Linked DNA regions of Homo sapiens: region 2 is linked to region 1. The links are contacts of gene promoters, found by promoter capture Hi-C in human tissues and cell types (Jung and others, 2019). All regions are on one chromosome and are shown on one strand. The core of a region is centred on a gene start or on the middle of the fragment in contact, and the rest is flanking DNA. Distances in the headings are between cores, read along the strand shown.

Region 1 (5,943 bases), core at 2,542-5,041:
ATATAAATGTGGGGCTCTTCACCTCATACCACAGATGGCATTTAAGGGCATGAGAATGAAAGAATAAATAGAGCAAGTGAATAGAGAGCCCAGAAGCAAGTTCTCAGGAATTCTAATAGAAGAGGGAAATCTAGCAAAGAGACTGAGGACTGACCAGAGAAGGAGAGAAAAGTAGTACGTCTAAATATAACAATAACTTAAACATTCTGAATTCTCTTGTCTGGAAAAATAATGTTTCAAGTCAAATCCTGATGAGTCAATAAAAGCTGTCCATTAGATTTAGAACATGAAAGTCACTGGTGAGGGAGAGAAAAGGAGAGAGGACTGATATTGAAAGGAGAGAGAGAGGATAAATTGGCAGAAAGGTACCTGAGAAGGTGAAGGGAGATGGGCTCCAGCAAAACACTGGAAGCTGGCCTGTGAGAGAAGTAAACCTGATGTAAAAAGATGGATTGCTGGTTCTAATTCCTTTCCTTCTAGAGCAGGGAACTGAAAACTGGAAATGCAATGTGGTGCAAACTTTCTGGAGGGTAATTTGTGTACACATATTAGGAACTTGTATAAATGTACACACTCTTCGATCCAGTGAATGCCATTTCTAGAGATTTATCGTAGAAAGTATTAACTATTTATGCAAAGATTTGGATACAAAGATACAGTTGCTTTAATAGTAAAAATGTGGAGACACCTAAATGTCCAATACTAAAATTGGTTAAGCAAATTATGATATATTAATACCAATATAATGAAATACTAAATAGACATTAACAATGGTGCCATAGAAGATGATTTATGGACGTAGAGGATTGCTGTATTATGTTGCTGTACCCAAACTACAACACATTATACTTCACATGTTGCATCTTTAGCACAACACAGTGCTTCATAGAAAGCAGGCATGCAATATCTATGATTGTTACTGGACGGATCTGCTGAATCAACACTAGTTGTATTAAATATAATATACTGATCTTGTTAGACTCTCACAGCCATATTCCTCATATTTATTTCTTTCAGCACAATTCATAATCATTCAGTTCCAAAACAAATACTTTACTCCATTTTCCAAACCTCCCAAGAATTGATTTCCCATCTTGTTCACTAATTTCAAAGAATACTCCAGTCACAGCTCATCAAAAGGGCAGAGCAGAAAAAGAAGTTTGTTTTTAAAAAAGCCTTCAATGTTAAACAAAATGAATGCACTTCTTAATGTAATTTAAAACTTGCAGGCCAGGCACGGTGGCTCACACCTGTAATCCCAGCACTTAGGGAGGCCGAGGTGGGTAGATCACGAGGTCAGGAGATCAAGACCATCCTGGCTAACACGGTGAAACCCTGTCTCTACTAAAAATACAAAAAAATTAGCCAGGCATGGTGGTGGGCACCTGTAGTCCCAGCTACTTGGGAGGCTGAGGTAGGAGAATGGCATGAACCCAGGAGGCGGAGCTTGCAATGAGCCGAGATCCAGCCACTGCACTCCAGCCTGGGCAACAGAGCGAAACTCTGTCTCAAAAAAAAAAAAAAAAAAAAAAACTTGCCAAATATTGTAAGCAAAAGTATGTATATACAGACACACATATATATATATACACACGTATATATATATCTATATACACATTTAAGAAACAGAGAAAAACTTTCTTTTAACACAGTTTTAAAAAACTAAAGCACTGACAGATTGAACTATAAAACAGCATAAGCCAAACTTTAATTGGTACTCTTCTTTACTTAGGCTGTCCACTAGCCCTTTGTGTAGTGGTTAAAAACAAGGACTTGAATGTGAGACAAACTTAGTTTCACATCCTTGTTCCGCCACTTACTGGCTGCGTGACCTAGGGCAGTTAACAGCTCAGAGCCTCAATTTTCTCACCTAGAATACCTACTGCCCAAGATTATTGTGAAGTCAAATAAGATTGTGAAGGTTAAACATCCACTACATGGAAAATCGTCAATAAGTATTTATTATTCATACCGCATTCAAAGTTGTAAGGTAATGCTATTCAAAGTGCGGTCTGAGGACCAGCAACTCAGCTTCACTAGAAATGGAAATTCTCAGGCCCCATCCCGGGTCTATTGTGTGGGGGTAGAGCATGAAATCCATCTTAACAACCTCTTCCAGTGATTCTTATACCTAATACAGTTTGAGAAGCTATGTTGTAAGGAATCCAAAAATGTAATGCAGTTTAACCCCCTACATTTTCATTTTATGGAAGACTAAACTAAAGTAGTAAGATCCTCAGCTAACTTGTTGAAAGTCATTCAGTAGTCTTGTGGAAGAGCTGAGATTTAACTCCAATTACCTTATCTAGGTCTTCAATCTAGGGGGGCTAAGAAGTGGGAAGCTGTTTGCTGTGATTCCAGAGAACTAGATAAAGAAAGAAATCAAGCAGCAAAGACAAGAGACCTACTAATAGAAATGTAAAACGTATCCCATTTTCTGTTCTTGGACACTAGGTGAATAACCATTAATGCATCTGATAAGCAGAAAGGATGACACAGACCTGTAAACAATCTGCCAGATTTTCTTAGTGAAATGTTGACTCACAGGATTTCTTTTAGACTCCTAATAATATAGTACAATAATTAGACATAGCATAACACAGTGACTTATTTTCATTCTTCATTATTTTTCATTTTCCATTAATAACTCAGCAAAAACCATCCGATGTTTACATTCAACATTCTCTGAACTTTATTGCAAATATACTCCAGAAAAACACCATAAAATGTTTTGGTAGTTTTCCCTTTAAAATAATCAGAACTGCATATTGACAGATAACATGAGTAGACCGCACTGAACAAATAACATTAGCCAATTTACTACCAAACATGTGGGCTTGCATTCATTTACCTGTCTGCGTCTCTAATTTCAAAACTTTCAGTAATCCATCTTCACCACCGCATGCTATGAACCCTTGTTCCTTGTTCCAGGATACACACTGCAGCTTCACGTTATTGGGAATGGAAATCTGAAAAAGCAACCACAGCCGCACTAGCAACTTTTCACGAAGGAGCTGGGAAGTAAGTCTGCAGGAGATGAAAGCTGAAGAAAATCTTCCAAGAAGAAAAACGAACGGCCTTGCAGAAAAAAAATGAGCTGTTGTGAAAATGGGCATGGTCCCCTGAACTGACCCGGGCTCTAGCATTTGGGAAAGAGGGAAAGAAGTGCACAAAAGAGAAGGATAGTGACTGCGGAGGAAGCCAACGCCAGAGTCTCACCGGATGGATTTTTTAAAGGGAGGACGGGGAGAGGGTATAAATCCATACCACCAGTCCCTCTTCCTTTTTACCTACAACTTAGGCTATCCTATTGTTATTTCTTTTCTCTTGCCCAATGGCTCGTGGTGATCCAAAGAGTTTAAATCACGTGGATCAGCAACAAGTGGAGGAGGAAACATAGGGTAGCACGTGGCGACTTATCCTCAAGCCACCCAAAAGGACCTAGCCAGGGGCAGGAATGGGAGAGTGCTGCGAGAGGGCAGCAAGCTCGGCCAAAGACTGAGGCTCTGGGAACCGCAGGAAGAGGTCGGAGGCTGGACCCGGCGGGAAGGATGGCTGCGGAATGGCGAAGCCACGACCAGGACCGGGTGAAGGAGCCTGGCTTCTCGGGAAGGCAGCGGGAATCGCCGCAGGCTGCGGGAATGGCGGAGAAACGAGGACGCCCCCCAGGAAACTCACTTTCTTGCTCAGGTAGAAGAACATCGTGGGATCCCCGAGAGGGTCACGGCGGCCGCTAAGGCCCTCGACAAGTAACGGTTCTACGTCTCCAATCGGGAGTACCAGCAGCTCCGGAAAGCTCCCGTCGCCCTGGCAACCGCTGTTGCCCGGTCGCATCCGGGGCGCCGCGGGACACTTCCGGTGACGCCCTCGCACCGGGCACCGGCGTAGTGCGCCTGCGCGGACGTCGATGGGTTTGTGGGCGCAGGGCGCGAGGCGCGAGGCGGTAGCTGGGCTAGTCCTGTTCCCTGGCGTCTGGGCCTTTCTGCTCTCCGCAAGGAGCTGGGTCGCGACCTGTCACTGCCAGCCGTGCGCTCGCCCTCTGCGCCCCGTCTCGTGGTCACTGCCGCCCTCCCTCCCGCCACACCTGTGATGATCGCTATGGAGCCGCGCCTCAGGTGGCATTACTATAAACCTAAGAGGAGAGGCGCCCGTTCGAATAAGGGCAAATTATTTAGTATTTTGTAAGTTCCAAAGTTCCAACATTCTTGAAAGGGAAAAGCCATTTACTGTATTTGATAGGCTGGCGCCACTGGCCAGATGAAAGTGCAAATGTGCGTACTGAGATCTTACAACCCTTCTCTGTGTCTTTGGGGATTGGAGAACCTCTAGAGCAATTTAGGAATAGAAGATTTTGTTTATTCCGCTTGTTTTGATATTTTTTAACAGTTTAATTATTACCGCAACCCCGAGGGTCCTTTTAAAGGAATTTCTGTAAACGTTGGGTAATTACAGCGTACAATTGCTATTGGGGCATGGCCTCCCATTTTACAAATATTTGAGCGTTTGGTGTTTTCTCGTCTAGAGTCGACTGTTACATATTCTCTTCTTTTTCTTACCTTCTTTCTTCATTCTCCTTTGTCCTTTTGGAATGCTTGAGAGTTACAAAGCCTCAAAGTCTAAGGCATAGGGCAGAAATCCAAGTAGAACCACTCATGAAATTATTTGGTCTCACCTATGTTTTTATTTCTGGTTTTCCCTTTTACCATAATCTAGCATGTAATTTATGCATCAGTAGTTAATTTCCCCACTTGGAGTCTTTTCCCATCTCAGACAAAAATAAAATAAAAATCCTCCAATCCTTTGACCTGGGTGATTTGTCTCACCCAGCACAATCTATTATAGAATTGACAATAGTCCCTAGTGCCTTTCCTAGCAAATCTAAACTCCATCCAAAATCAGATCTTCCCTCAATCCTAAATGTTTTTACTAGGGAGCCCCCACCTCAAGTAAGCCAATATGCTTTCTGCAGGGCAACATTCCATCCGGCTCTGCTTCCCAAGCCACTTTATATATGGTCCTACCCTCTTAACAGGCCAGTTGTGCCTAGCCAAACCAGCACAAATCAGTCTCCATGAGGAATTCTTTCCAAACTTAACCCAATCCCATTCAGATAATGTTTGCTTTCCATTGTTTGTGTGTCTGTTTAAGATACATTGGCCCCTGTCCATAGGCTCCCTATACTGGACGCATGAGACAAATTAGTATTATCTAACCCAGGAGTTTCCAATAAACTGGTCAAGACATAATTAGTTGAAGCTAGTTACTGATGGTGACACCTGAAAACTCACCTCTCTTTATCTTTCCCTTCTTGCACATGAACTCTCATTTATTCCTTCTATACCACCATTTCTCTGTGGTATATTAATATGTATTACTGATTTTGGGCTCAAAAAAGTCTGGAAAATACTACTGTAGCTCTATGTCATACCCTTTCAAAATTTTTGAAAAGTAAGAGATGCTTTATATATTTCCTTGGTATATTTAGTTTTTGTTCCTTCCTTAAAGTTTATATTTTATATTTACATCTGTAGGATATATTTGCTTCTCAGGAGCTTATATTAATGTAAAGCTCATCATTATTTTATCCAAATTTAGATAATTTTATATTGAAGCCTTTCTTTTGAACCTGAACTTACACTTTTAGCCTCAGGAGTGTGAGATTAAACTATAGGAGGAGAATCAAACTTCTGTCTTTTGATAAGAAACTGTTGAATATCAAAATAACTGTTAATTCAGTATAATTTAAAGAAATATCTTTAATAGACAAAATTGATGAGTCATCAAAAATAGACATGATAATATGTAAAGGTAATAACTTTTATTATATTAAAGACAATGCAAACGAAAAACAGAATTGAGCAGTGCAAAATTTAAAGGACTGTTTTGTTCTCAAAGTTGCAAGTTTCAAAGCCAAAAGAATTATATGTATCAAATATATAAGTA
Region 2 (5,943 bases), core at 1,925-4,424, 280 kb after region 1:
TTTCAAAAGTAAACCCAAATAGTGTTGTGGATGAGGGGAAGAAGAGAGGGAGAGAGAATCATACAGCCAATGTGATAAAGCGGTAACATCTGGAAAACATGGGTGAAGGGTATAGTTTTGCAATTTTCCCATTAGTCTCAAATTATCCCAGAATTGGTTAAAAACAAACACATAAACAGGTCATCCATATTCATACTTCTGCTGCTGGTAGTCTAAAAGCAGCTATGTTCTGCACCAAAAGTATTAAAAGAGATAAGGTCTTTTCATTTCGTCATTCAGTCCCCACTATCATTCATGACTGTTTAATCACTATCTGCCTAAGAGTGTATATAGGACATGTAGATCAGTACTATAATTCCACAGATGAGGTCACTATGGTCCAATGGTCCAATGGTCCAAAAGGTATGGGACATGCAGCTAGTCAGCCAAGACCCTTAGGCCAGAGCTTATCTCATACGACAGTGTGCCAATCTTCTGTGCTATTTACATCTTTCATGTTCATTCATGAGAACTTTAATTGGTTCCAGGACCCACACAAGAAACCAAAAATCTGTGGAAGCTGAACTCCAGTAGTTTAGCCTTATGTAAACTATGGATACGAAAGGCAAGACCTCCGTATCTACAAGTTTCACCTTTATCCAAGGATGCAGAATCTGTGGAGATAAAGCAGGTCCTCCGCGGGGCAAGGGGTGCTGGGGGAGACCGTAAGTGAAACCACCACAAAATAAAGAAATCTGTCTAGCCTTCATTTTTCATTATTTTCTACCCTCTGGGATTGGAATGACAGCTACTCAATCTATGAGGCCTGTTTAAGAATACAGATTCCTGACCCTTACTTAAGACATAGATAATTACTCCTTCTGGAAAATCCACCTGAAGGATATTCTGATAGAAGAGTATGGGGACTAATTAATTAGAATAAAAATAATTTAATTCTTCATTTTACAACAGATTTTCAACTAGTAATTGCAAATAAAAATCAAAGTAAGTATGCCCCATGCGGTGGCTCAGGCCTGTAATCCCAGCACTTTGGGAGGCTGAGGTGGGCGGATCACTTGAGGTTAAGAGTTCAAGACCAGCCTGGCCAACACAGTGAAACCCCATCTCCACTATATGTATGTGTAAAAAAATTAGCTGGGTGTGGTGGCGTACGCCTGTAGTCCCAGCTACTCGGGAGGCTGAGACAGGAGAATTGCTTGAACCCAGGAGGCGAAGGTTACAGTGAGCAGAGACTGCACCACTGCACTCTAGCTTGGGCAATAGAGCAAGACCCTGTCTAAACAAACAAAACAAAACAAACAAAATATATATATATATATGTATGTCAGATACATTTAATACAGCTCATGCACACAGGGTGAATGCTGAAATAAAAATATAAAACAGAAGTTACAGAAAGATAGCATTTCTTTCCAGATTAATATATAAATGACTCAAATGTGTGGGGCATTTTCATTTTTTTCCCTCAGAATTTAAAATTTTTTGTATGTCTATTGCATGTAAAGTATAAATCTTTTTTTGTTTCTGAAATGTGGCAGGTGGTTGGACTATTATTTTATGATACATCATTTGTAACACTGCTGTATGAGAATGCTATCCTCTTAATAGCCTATGAGGCAGACATATCTCCATTTTACTTGTGAGACAACAGCTTAGAGAATCTAAATAACTTATCCAAGAAAGCACAGCTAATAATTAGGCTGAATTTTTGTTTACCATTATGTCTAAAAAATTCATGTAAAGTTGTCAGTCATACTCTGCTATGCTTCCTAGAGAATGTTTAATCTCACATGCCATTCTTAAGTCTGCAAAATGACTGAAGCTACATGAGGTATAAACTGAATAAAATTTTAATAATAATAATAATTATTATTATTTTTGAGACGGAGTGCCACTCTGTCACCCAGGCTGGAGTGCAGTGGCACGGTCTCAGCTTACTGCAAGCTCCGCCTCCCAGGTTCACGCCATTCTCCTGCCTCAGCCTCCCGAGTAGCTGGGACTACAGGCACCCGCCACCACGCCCGGCTAATTTTTTTTTATTTTTAGTAGAGACAGGGTTTCACCATGTTAGTCAGGATGGTCTTGATCTCCTGACCTCGTGATCCACCTGCCTTGGCCTCCCAAAGTGCTGGGATCACATGCGTGAGAATGCTTATAATAACTATACATTTGCCATATAAAGACACAACAATTTTATTGGAGGAAAGACTAAGACTACAATGAGTTTAAAAAAACAAAGTGGGCATATTTAAAAGTATAATCTTCCACATCATTTTAATAGGCTGTTATAAAAATACACACATGTCAAACGTACTACCTTAAAACTGTTAATTTTATGACAATATGCAAGCAAACATTAGATGCAAATTACAAGCCAAGTGTTCTAAAATACAAAATAAAAATCTGTTGTTTCCGTTTCTATTGCTTGTGATTCTTTTCTATCAGCAATTTTTAAAAATCTTACCTTTTATTATAGTCTTTACTGGTTAAACTTAAAAAAATAAAGGGCAGACTATCACCATACAAGGTATTTAACAATCTTCCCTCATTCATCAAGGGGAATTTAAACAGACTAAGTAATAACATACTTAGTTAACATAACATAGTCTTCAGACTAGTTATGACATCATTTCCATCAATAACCCACCCTGTCAATTTCCATTACCCTATCAAAAGGGGGTAATGTATAGTTCCAAAAGTTGCCTCAATTTTTTATCTTTAGTGAAAACTACCTCCTCTTGTGACTGATGGACACAAGAACATTTTAAAAAACCTACCCCTAACCCCGCAAAAGAGTAGTAGTAGTAGGATGAGTTCGAGTAGCCTAATAGGAACCTGTTGGCTTTTCCCTGCATATGTCATATGACCCTGTCAGATTTGGCCTAAATTCTTTCCTTTGGTTAATACATTTGGTAATAAGTTAACAAACGAGCAAGCCATATCTGAATTTCCTTTTAAATATTCCAGCTGAGATTTCATGGCCAGTTGCCTTTCTGATTGGAGTGAAGAAAAATTATAGGAGCTGGGATTGTTTCTCTTAAACCATGATTACTAAGGATTTATGCAATCTTAAAGCTTGCTTCAAAAGCTGTGAATACTGGAATAAATTCTGATCCTACACAAACATTATGGGTACATTTATTGTCTCTCTTGATGGGGTCATTGTGGTGGTGGGAAGAGGGCTGAAGAACTGGGAAGGTAAAAAACAAATAAACACACACACACACAAAACAAAAACTCCACAACTGACTGTCAAAACTTCATTTTCATAATGCAATGTTCTAAAGAGTATGATCTTGGCACACTGAACAAAGAAAACACTGATTGAGAACAGCCAAATAATGCTTTAATATAGTAATCTATGTAGGATACCAAGTAATTTTTAAAAAGGAAGTGTCCTTACTCAATAATAAATTCATCAATAAAACAAAGAAACAAAACCACTCAAATTCAATTACCCAAACATTCAATGAAATCTGAGTATTTTTAGTTGTAGAAAAAGGCCTGGGCTTTCTTGTTTCTAATCTAGTGGAGAAAATAAACCTAGAAACAATTCCATTATAATCCAATGTGTGCTAATTTTGGTTCAAAAAACCCATAAAGGAAAATAATTCCAATGAAATCACTATGTTTCTACAGAATAAGATTATGAAATAAAGTGAAATAAGACAAGAACATTACAATCATTATATTGTAACTGCTGTTTTTATCTGTATTTACCACAAAGCTACAAACTCGATGACAGTGAATAAGGATGTTTTTTTCTCCTAGTCAAGCAGAGGCTGGCTTCAATATTGTATTGAACACAGATATTCAATATTGAATAAGTAACAATTTTAATCACATAATTCTAAAAAGGAGTCTAATAAAACTATAGAAAAGATAAAATAGCAATTACTTTCAGTAATTAGAAATAAAAACAAAACTTGCTATTTATATACTATTTACAGTATTTTAAAGTATTACAAACAAGATTCTTTTCTGTTTTTCTGAGACAGGGTCTCGATCTGTCATGCCCAGGCTGGAATGCAGTGGCATAACGTCGGCTTACTGCAACCTCCGTCTCCTGGGTTCAAGCGATTCTCCCACTTCAGCTTCTCAAGTGGCTGGGACTACAGGCACATGTCACCGCACCCGGCTAATTTTTGTATTTTTAATAGAGACGGGGTTTCGCCACATTGCCCAGGCTGGTCTCGAACTCCTGAGCTCAAGCAATACTCCCGCCTCAGCCTCCCAAAATGCTGGGATTACAAGCATGAGCCACTGTACATGATCAGTTTTAACTTAAAATTAGTAATGAAATATTTAAAAGACCCTTAAAGTAAATAGCATTTAATTTGGATTAAAGATCAATTGTTAGCAAGTGAAAAACCCAAAAAAGCCAATAACACTGACATTCAAACTCACTTTTTCCACAAAGTCACAATAGGTTAAATTATATTTTACTACAATTTTATAAAAAGTTTACAAAGATGTGAAACATAGGAAACATGGTCCTTTTAATTTATTCGGATAGGTATTAGAAATAAAAGCATCCTGACCAGGCATGGTGGCTCACACCTGTAATCCCAGCACTTTGGGAGACCGAGGCAAGTGGATCACCTGAGGTCAGGAGTTCAAGACCAGCCTGACCAACATGGTGAAAACCCGTCTCTACTAAAAATACAGAAATTAGCTGGGCGTGCTGGCAGGCGCCTGTAATCCCCACTACTCAGGAGGCTGAGGCAGGAGAATCGCTTGAACCTGGGAGACAGGCTGCAGTGAGCTGAAATCGCACCATTGCACTCCAGCCTGGGGGGCAGAGCAAGACTTCGTCAAATGAATGAATGAATGAATGAATGAATGAATGAATAAATAAATAAATAAATAGAAAAGCATCCTTTGAGAAGCAGTACAACATCTGGAAGAAGCCAGATAAACGTGGGCTCAAAATTTTGGTTCTGCCTCTTACTAACTTCATGAATATAAGTCACGTAATTTCTTTGAGAATAAAGCGTGTTTGTGTGCATATGTGTATGTGTGGTGTGAAACAGAAGTCAAAGTTCATTCCCCCTCATTTGGATATTCAACTACTCCTGCCCAAGTCACTGAAACACCTGTTTTTCTCATATACACTGGAGTGGCAACTTGGTCATTAGGTATCTAAATGAGTAGGTCTATTTCTGGATGCACTACTCTGTTCCGCTGTTCTATTTATTTATCCTTGTGCCAATACCGTAGTTTTAGTTACTGTAGCTTTCTAAGTTCTGGTATCCAGCAGTATTAAGTTTTCTAACTTTGCTTTTCAAAACTGTCTTCACTACTTTTGGTTCTGCTTTTCCATTTTCATTTTTTGCATCAGCTTATCAATTTCTTTTTAAAACCTAATTTTATTGATAGCGTTCAATCTTTAGACCAACTAGAAGAAAGCTGGTATCTTTATAATAGGGAGTCTTTCAACCTAAAATATGGTATGTCCTTCCATTTATTTAAGTCATCTGTAACTTCCATCAGCATTTTATAGTTTATAATGTAAAAGATCTTGCACTTCTTCTGCTGGATCCATTCCTAGATATATCACAACAAAACCAACTCCAGTGAAAATATTCTCTACATATAAGAAACAACTTTTCAAAGCCATTCTAAGAGATATATGCTACTTTCATTTTTATGTTATTTGGCTAACACTGCAAATCTCTCATGAAGCACATCTGCCTGTATTTTAAAGGCTACCTTTTGATCCTTAGGGTACCTTATAAGCATGGTGGGATGGTGTAAATTACAGGTGAATTCTTGGTAGATTAAAATAATCTCTGCCAGCTACAAATTATTTCAAGTCAGTGTTTTCATGTGGAGGCTACTGAAAATTTCAGTGGGACGAAACTATTTTTGTGCTGACTATGCAAAGTATAACATCTGGCTACCAGGCATTTAATGCCAATAGAATCCCCACAATCATTGTAA

What was found. Contacts are between HindIII fragments. The study calls those that stand out against the background at their distance.
Region 2: a fragment that was not itself captured here is called in contact with the fragment with the promoter of WDR35 in region 1 in 2 of the 25 tissues and cell types used here (IMR-90 fibroblasts and aorta).

Annotation. Positions count from the first base shown.
Region 1 is chr2:19,986,314-19,992,256 of GRCh38, forward strand. WDR35 (WD repeat domain 35) reads right to left here and starts at 3,792. Exons shown (of 27, transcript NM_020779.4): 1 at 3,679-3,792; 2 at 2,852-2,969. The coding sequence starts at 3,702. WDR35-DT (WDR35 divergent transcript) reads left to right here and starts at 3,891. Exons shown (of 3, transcript NR_110235.1): 1 at 3,891-4,181. MATN3 (matrilin 3) reads right to left here. Exons shown (of 8, transcript NM_002381.5): 8 at 5,739-5,943. RefSeq lists enhancers at 3,523-3,572, 3,589-4,092, 3,723-3,772 and a silencer at 3,933-4,012. The HindIII fragment of the contact is 18,147 bases long and covers 1-5,943 here.
Region 2 is chr2:20,267,339-20,273,281 of GRCh38, forward strand. All of the region lies in intron 13 of PUM2 (pumilio RNA binding family member 2), which reads right to left. Among named protein-coding and RNA genes, the nearest start is that of SDC1, 45 kb to the left of the region's middle. The HindIII fragment of the contact is 7,481 bases long and covers 1-5,943 here.